3 separate regions of the Homo sapiens genome follow, and all the other regions are linked to region 3. Evidence: promoter capture Hi-C in human tissues and cell types (Jung and others, 2019). All regions are on one chromosome and are shown on one strand. Each heading gives the region's core, a stretch centred on a gene start or on the middle of the fragment in contact. The rest is flanking DNA. Distances are from core to core; before and after follow the strand shown.

The links. The method cuts DNA at HindIII sites, captures the fragments that hold promoters and counts their contacts. A contact is called where the count stands out against the background at its distance.
Region 1: a fragment that was not itself captured here is called in contact with the fragment with the promoter of GID8 in region 3 in 6 of the 25 tissues and cell types used here (dorsolateral prefrontal cortex, liver, lymphoblastoid cells and 3 more).
Region 2: a fragment that was not itself captured here is called in contact with the fragment with the promoter of GID8 in region 3 in 3 of the 25 tissues and cell types used here (bladder, dorsolateral prefrontal cortex and lymphoblastoid cells).

The regions. Positions count from the first base shown.
Region 1 is chr20:62,855,374-62,858,073 of GRCh38, forward strand. It overlaps TCFL5 (transcription factor like 5), which reads right to left. Exons shown (of 6, transcript NM_006602.4): 4 at 2,022-2,265. Among named protein-coding and RNA genes, the nearest start is that of TCFL5, 5.1 kb to the right of the region's middle. The HindIII fragment of the contact is 4,926 bases long and covers 1-2,700 here.
Region 2 is chr20:63,061,971-63,064,670 of GRCh38, forward strand. No RefSeq gene overlaps it. Among named protein-coding and RNA genes, the nearest start is that of LINC01749, 17 kb to the right of the region's middle. The HindIII fragment of the contact is 3,284 bases long and covers 1-2,700 here.
Region 3 is chr20:62,936,722-62,939,421 of GRCh38, forward strand. GID8 (GID complex subunit 8 homolog) reads left to right here and starts at 1,426. Exons shown (of 5, transcript NM_017896.3): 1 at 1,426-1,532. It also overlaps a transcript of DIDO1 not described here. RefSeq lists silencers at 627-676, 947-996, 1,367-1,596, 1,667-1,796 and an enhancer at 1,492-2,160. The HindIII fragment of the contact is 10,021 bases long and covers 1-2,700 here.

The DNA of each region.
Region 1 (2,700 bases), core at 140-2,639, 81 kb before region 3:
GCTGGTTTCAAACTCCTGGGCTCAAGCAATCCTCCCACCTCGGCCCACAGTCATGAGCCACTGCACCCTGCCCCAGCAAGTTTGAATAGATCCCTTTAAAAGAAATTGCCATGCCAGGCGCAGTGGCTCAAGCCTGTAATCCCAGTACTTTGGGAGGCCGAGGCACGTGGATCACCTGAGGTGAGGAGTTCGAGACCAGCCTGACCAACATGGAGAAACCCCTCCTGTACTAAAAATACAAAATTAGCTGGGCGTGGTGACGCATGCCTGTAATCCCAGCTACTCAGGAGGCTGAGGCAGGAGAATCGCTTGAACCTGGGAGGCGAAGGTTGCGTTGAACCGAGATCGTGCCATTGCACTCCAGCCTGGGCAACAAGAGTAAATCTCCATCTCACCAAATAAAAAAATAAATAAATAAATAAATTGCCTTAGCTCAACATTCAACCTTGGAGCTTCAAACCTGAGTATTTGTCTCACTCACTGTTATTTATTTCCTGAACTTAAAGCAGAAACTGGTACACAGTACCAGTACTCGATACATTATGTAGTTAATTAATTATAGATTAGGGAAATATTCTATGAAAACCCAATTATAGGCCGGGTGTGGTGGCTCATGCCTGTAATCCCAGCACTTTAGGAGGCCGAGGCAGGCGGATCACAAGGTCAGGAGTTCGAGACCAACCTGGCCAATATGGTGAAACCTCATCTCTACTAAAAGGTACAAGAATTAGCTGGGCGTAGTGGCGGGTACCTGTAATCCCAGCTACTGGGGAGGCTGAGGCAGAAGACTCGCTTGAACCTGGGAGGCGGAGGTTGCAGTGAGCCGAGATCATGCCACTGCACTATTCCAGCCTGGGTGACAAAGCAAGACTCCGTCTCAAAAAAAAAAAAAAAAAAGAAAAAGAAAAGAAAACCCAATTATAATAGAAAAAAATTAACCACTCTTAATTCTACAAAGAAGGATACCACAAATAAAATCTACAGACAAAACCACTTAAATAACAATTTTAACCTCTTCCTTCCCAGCAATCTTAAAAGAACCAGGCAATAGCCAGGAGCGGTGGCTCACACCTGTAATCCCAGCACTTTGGGAGGCCGAGGCGGGCAGATCACGAGGTCAGGAGATCAAGACCATCCTGGCTAACATGCTGAAACCCCGTCTCTACTAAAAAATACAAAAAAATTAGCCAGGTGTGGTGGCAGGCGCCTGTAGTCCCAGCTACTCAGGAGGCTGAGGCAGGAGAACGGCATGAACCCGGGAGGCGGAGCTTCCAGTGAGCAGAGATCGCGCCACTGCACTCCAGCCTGGGCGACAGAGCAAGACTCCGTCTCAAAAAAAAAAAAAAAAAAAAAGAACCAGGCAAAACTTGCTGAACTCAAGCTGGCTGGTAAGCAGCAGTTACCAAAACAGCCTGACCACTCTCCTCAGAAAGGCCTGCAGTCAGGGCTGGCCCTTAGTGGAGTCTGCAAACCTAGATTCAGGGAGTTAAGAGTGCCCCCAGAACCTACACTGTGCAAACGATATGGCTGACACTGAACAACTGCTTTCCTTCTGGGAGACTGGACTGTGGTTGCATGCATGGGGGCAGTGCCTACGTGACACGCCCCTGGTCTCTAGCGAGCTTTCCTGGTTGGCAACACCTCACCCACGTTTTCAGACCACATGGCTGGGGGCATGAGGGGCAACCTGCCTGACTCCACAGGGCGCGCTCTTAGAAGCTTGCACCTCAGCTCCTGCCTTCTCCCCACGCGCCTTTGCTGATCGCACCTGGCATCCTTTCTCCATAGTAAGTCACAGCCTGAGAGTGACTGCATGCGGAGTCCCGGGAGTCCTCCTAGTGAGCCAGCGAGCCTGGGCATAGTCTGGGGGATCCTTGATCCATCTGGGAAAGCTAACGATGCTCCTACCTGCTTTATTCCCTCTGAACGCAGAAACGGCTAAGGATCACTCATCTGTGATAACCATGTATGACTAAGGTAATCATATATGAGTCAGCCTGACAAGCAGTCACACGTATTACCTTCTATCTCTTTCCATTCGGTTATGCCTCTCCCTACGTTGAGACCTTCCTCCCTGGGGCCCACTCTGGGCCTGCTCCCCCAGGTTTGCCTGTGAGGACTCCGAGGACTGCCAAGCGCCTTGTGTGGCGGTGGCACCTTCGCCCACATTCTGAATCTCTCCAAGGGCTCTTCGCTCTACATTTGTGTCCAACTGACGCATTCTACTCCGATTCCTCTTCAGTGCTTGTTTGCATAGCGCTGCTTCTTTGCGAAAGAAGAAAAAAGTGGTTTTTAATTTTGTATTCTTATCTCAATTAATGCTGAATACAGTTTTGGCCTTTTCAATCCAAGATATAAACATTATTGGGTAAGCAGCACAGAGAACCGAAACACAAAGAGATGTACTAATGCAGTTTTTCAGCATCAGCAGGGACCATGAAGCCCAAGCCTATTTTATACAACGAAACTGAACAAGAATCAATCATCACACTAAATACGTTTTCCAAGTGCTATGCAACCAATATGACCTCATCCAAAGCCCCTCTTTTTAATTAACAGGTGTTATCTATGAATACAGAAAACAAGAAGTTGTTTACTTTTTCTAAAGGTCAGAATGGAAAAAAAAAAACAACAACAACAAACCACCTGGACATATTTCCTCCCAAAAATATTTTCTTTATATACAATTATTCTAAGAAC
Region 2 (2,700 bases), core at 97-2,596, 130 kb after region 3:
GTGTTCGTGTCCTGTCCATGTCCATGTCCTGTCCGTGTCTGTGTCCATGTCCTTGTCCTGTCCATGTCTGTGTCCTGTCCATGTCTGTGTCCTGTCTGTGTTCGTGTCCTGTCCATGTCCGTGTCCTGTGTTCGTGTCCTGTCCATGTCCGTGTCCTGTCTGTGTTCGTGTCCTGTCCATGTCCGTGTCCTGTCTGTGTCCATGTCCTGTCTATGTCCGTGTCCTGTCCGTGTTCTTCTTCACCCTGATGTGGGGGAGCTCTTTCGGCCTTTCCTTTACTGCAGCCCGAAAAGGAAAAAAGAGGGAAAAGCAGGCACATTTCTTGACCAGAAAAAATAAACAAAAACAAAAGCCCCTTGTGCTCCATGGGGGAGAGCGTGAAGCCCCCGAGCGCCACTGCCCCCGGTCCCAGGAGGCTCAAAGTCCTCTCTGCTCAGAGAGCCGGGGGTGCTTGGCCCCACCCTGTCCCCCTTCCCAGCCACTTGGTATTTACATGTACAGCTGGACCCCGAGAGAATCCCCATTCTAAGCCCAACAGTACATTCTGGGGCGTTTTAAAGAAGATAAGAAAGTAGCTCAGAGGTTTGCCAGGCTGCCTCATTCCTGGGATTTTTAGTGTGAGCCTTGGAGCTGGTGGGCTTGAATGTGGGGTTCCTGCAGTTGGGTCCCCCTGACGCCCCCGGCCCTTCCCTGTCACTCCGGGGTGTAATTAGGAGTGTCCCCCAGGATTGAGGGAGTGTGGTCTCGAGCTGGTTGGACTCAAGGCTGTTCTACTTTTTTCTCCAAGTTTTGTTTATTGTGGTAAAACACACATAAAATTTTATCATCTCAGCCATTTTTAATGAACAGTTCAATGACACTAAGGACATTCCCATGGTTGTGCCATCACCACTGTCCATCTCCAGAACGCCTTTCACCTTCCCAAACCCAGGCTCTGTCCCCATTAAACAGCTCCCCACGCCTCCTCCCCCAGCCCCCGGCCTCCCCTTTCTACTTTCTGTCTCTACAAATGTGGCAGCTCTGGGACCGCGTGTGAGTGGACACCTACAGTATTGTCCTCTGCGACTGGCTGATTTCATTAGCATGTCCTCAAGCTTCATCCACGTTGTAGCCTCCGTCACAATTTCCCTCCTTTTTAAAGGCTGAATAATATTCCATTGTGTGGATAGACACATTCTGTCTATTCATTCATCTCTCAATGGATACGGTTGCTTCCATGTTTTAGCTATTATGAACAATGCTGCTGCAAACATGGGTATAAAGTGTCTCTTTGAGATCCTGCTTTCAGTTCTTTTGCGGGTGCACTCAGCCGTGGAATGGCCGGATCACATGGTCATTCTGAGTTTTGTTTTGTTTTGTTTTGTTTTTTTGTTTTTGTTTTTTTTGAGACAGAGTCTTGCTCTGTCACCCAGGCTGGAGTGCAGTGGCGCGATCTCGGCTCACTGCAACCTCCGTCTGTTGGGTTCAAGTGATTCTTCTCTGTCAGCCTCCCCAATAGCTGGGATTACAGGTGCCGGCCACCACACCTGGCTAATTTTTGTATTTTTAGTAGAGACGGGGTTTCACCATGTTGGCTGGGCTGGTCTCGTACTCTTGACCTTGGGATCCGCCTGCCTTGGCCTCCCAAAGTGCTGGGATTACAGGCATGAGCCACTGTGTCCGGCCCATTCTGAGTTTTTTGAGGGAGTGCCATCCTGTTTTCCACAGTGGAGGCACCATTTTACATCCCCCACCAGCCGTGCACGAGGGTTCCAGTTTCTCCACATCCTCACCAACATTTCTTATTTTCAGCTTCTTCTTACGGTAGCCATCCCAGCGGGTGTGAGGCGCATCGCACTGTGGTTCTGATTTGCGTTTTCCTCATGGTTAGCGATGTTGTTTCACGTGCCTATTGGCCGTGTGTGTGTCTTTTTGGAGAAACACTTAGCCATGCCCTCCATGCATTTTTGAGTTGGGATTTTTGCTCTTATTGAGTTTTAGGAGTTCTCTGTACATTTTGGATGTTCATTCCTTATCAGATATATGATTTGCGAATATTTTCTCCTGTTTTCTGGGTTGCCTTTGATTCTGCTGAGATTGTCTGTTAAGGTGAATAATTTAAAGTTTTCCTGAAGTCCAGTGTGTCTGTTTTTTCTTTTATTGCCTGTGCCTCTGGTGTCATATCCAGGGAACCGTTGTCCAATCCAGGGTCATGAAGCTTTGTGAGGCTGTTCTACTTTATTTCCAGGGAGCTGCACAACCTGGGGTCTTCTCTGGGGCCGTGGGCTCTGAGGGCCGAAGGCCACGTTCCCCGGGTGTTGGTGTGGACCTCGGCACGGCCCCCACTGACCTGCATGGGCCGAGGTCCTGCAAGAGAACGGGCTCCATTTGCGTCTGAGGGCCAGGATGCCTGCACTGGGGATCACGCTGTGCTTCGGATGGAGCCTCCAATCTCGGGGATGCCATTTTACCCTGGAGGCCATCGGGCTTCATGCCCCACGGGCATTGTATCGGCTTCCGTGTGGCCCCGAGAGCAGGGCAATCCGAGGGCAAGGCCAAGGGAGTGGTGAGCGTGGCCTGCAGGGCGGAGCCAGGCGAAGTGGGGTGGGGCTGGAGGCCGCCCGGGCTCTGGTTGGTGGGCAGAGGCAGGAAGCCACTGGTAGCTCAGCACAGCACAGGGCTGATGTCAGGGGCGGCACCCAGCCAAGACCCAGGGAGCTG
Region 3 (2,700 bases), core at 176-2,675:
GGCGTGGTGGTGCGCCCCTGTGGTCCCAGCTACTCGGGAGGCTGAGGCAGGAGAATCGCTTGAACCCGGGAGGCGGAGGTTGCAGTGAGCCGAGATGGCGCCACTGCGCTCCAGCCTGGGCGAGAGTGAGACTTCGTCTCAAAATAAATAACTAAATAAAGACCAATAACTGTTTCCCATAGGGTTATGTAGTTGCAAATGAAAAAATTACTGGCATGTACTGCCTCTGCATATGAAGCATAATTTTGTCAAGACCTTATACCTGCAGATTTAGCTCTTTCGATTAACGGAAAATGTCCAAAATCAGTCTCCTCCAACCTATTTGCCGAACTGGACTTACTGTCGCTGAGTAGACCGACCGACATAGCTTACACGTTGTTCAGCTCGCTTGTAAGCAAACACACGAAACCACCTCACCCCTGACTTCAGAAAGAAGCCGTCCCGTGAATTCCTCACAGATGAAATCAGGAGCTGCCCCTCAAGGACTCTATTTCTTCCTTCGGCTCTATCAAATATTTTAAGGTACTTCCCAGCAACGGAAACATGGGACCCTGCAATGACAGACTTCGCATTCCTCCTGAGCGGACAGGCAATAAGCAAGTAAACGCGCAAATACCCAAGTGCGGCCTCAACCCGCGCTCCTGCCGGGAGGGTCTCCAGTCACCGAGTAACCCCGGCCCTGCCCCGCGCCGCCGCCGGGACTCCGCCCCGCAAGCAAGTGGGGTCTCCTTTGTCCCGCGCGCCCTGGCCGCGTCCCGCCCTTCGGCGTAGCCCATGGGAGGCGCCCTGAGGGCAGGGCCCTTCTGATTCCCCACCTGGCCTCGAGTGAGGACGCGCTCAACAACATCTCGAGTAAAGCGGGGGAACTCGCTTCAACGCGCAGACAGCACAGCTCTCGCCCAGCCCGGTCTCGGGTCAGCCGTCTCTCCCTGGACCTCAGGGACACTAGCCCTGGAAGGCCGCCGGTCGGGAGGGGACTCCCTCCCCGTCTGAGGGGCGGCCGCGGACACCCGGCGCCTTTCCCCCGCCCCACCCCGTGCGGCCTCACGCAAACGACAGGAAAAAAGCTGGGACCTTCGCCTCCGACTCAGTGTAGACGTCGCCATCCCGGTTCCAGATTTCCGCGCTCCAACGCCTCCGCAGCAGCCATCTTGCCAGAGGGCCGACGCCTTTTGACTCTGGCGCCAACCCGTAGTGCGTGGTCGCCGCGAGGGGAGTTCTGCGCAAGTACGGAAGCTGAGGTTCCGCGCTTCCGGGAGGCCGTCCGCCCCGCCCCCTCGCGGGGGCGCTTCATTGGTCATCGGCTCGCGCTCTCGCGCTCTCTTGCTGTCGCGAGAGGTGCTGAGGGGCGGCCTCCGGTGCGCCTGCCCTCCCGCTCCCCGCCCCCGCCCCCGCCCCCGCCTCCGCCGCGGCCCCCACCTCTGCCTCCTTCTACTCGGGCGCCCCGGCGGCCGCCACCTCTCCCCAGCCCAGGAGAGGCTGCGGAGCCGCAGCCGCCCAGACCGCGCAGCGCGGGAGGCAGGTTCCGCACGGTAAGATGGCGGCGGCGGGCCCGGGCGGCCGGGCCGAGCGTCTCCCGGGGCCGGGCCGGGCGGGCAGGCGGGATGTGGCCGGGGTGCGCGCCGCCCCCGCTCTGGGGGCCTTGGAAGCGCCGGCGCTGGCAGGTGCGGAATTGGGGCGCGCAGTGAGTCCAGGCCCGGACGGCCGCCCCGCGCCGGTGCCCAGGGGGCAGTCAGGGCTCAGCCTCCAGGCGCGCGGCCTCAGGCGCTGGTGTTCTGGGGCGGTCCCGGCCAGCCTGAGGGGCGGCGGTAGCTGTCTCTGTGGAGGAGCGACGTCCGTAACGAAGTCTTTTTAATAAAATCTGCTGCTTTAAAGCAGAAACCGAGCGGGTGAGGATGTAAAGTGTGGCATGGAAAGTAGGAGTCTTCAGCACACGGGTGTTTTCTTCTGCTGAATCTTTTTATGCTGGAGTTTGAGACTACCGAGTTCTTCCTGCTAACAGGACTGGCCAGTTCTACAAAGTTGTTGCTTTTCATGGGCGCACGTAACTGCCCGGAGTGGAAGCGCTGTGAGTGCCGATCACCGAATGGGCCGAGAGAAAAGGTGCCTTTTCCTAGGGAGCTCTTAACGTTGGTCCTAGGGCCGGGCGCGGTGGCGGAGGTCGAAGTGGGCGGATCACTTGAGCCCGCGAGTTCGAGACCAGCCGTGGCAACAGCGAGACTCCCTTCTCTGCTAAAAATAAAAAAATTAGCCAGGCAGAGTGGTGCGCTCCTGTTGTCCCAGTTACTCTGGAGGCTGAGGTGGGAGGATCGCTTGAGCCCAGGAGGTCGAGGCTGCGGTGAGCCATGATCGCGCCACTGCCCTCCAGCCTGGGCGACAGAGCGAGGCTCTGTCTCAAAAAAAAAAGAAAAAGAAAATGAGTCCTTAAGTTACCATTAATTGTCGTGAATAAAAAGTTGGTCTCAGTGAGTTTTGCAGTTGACAACGAAAGATGGGTGTTCGTGTGTGACAGCGACTCCTGGTTTCTCCTCCACTTTACCTGCCGCTCCACATCAAGTTTTCTTCTGCTGGTGCCACTTTCTCTGCTTTACCTTCAAGGTTGGCATCCTCCAAGTAATGGCGATTCTCATTCCCTATCTACGCTCTTCCTATGGTCTTTGCTGAATTCTTGGCTTTAAATATCCCTGTGCCCCAGCACCG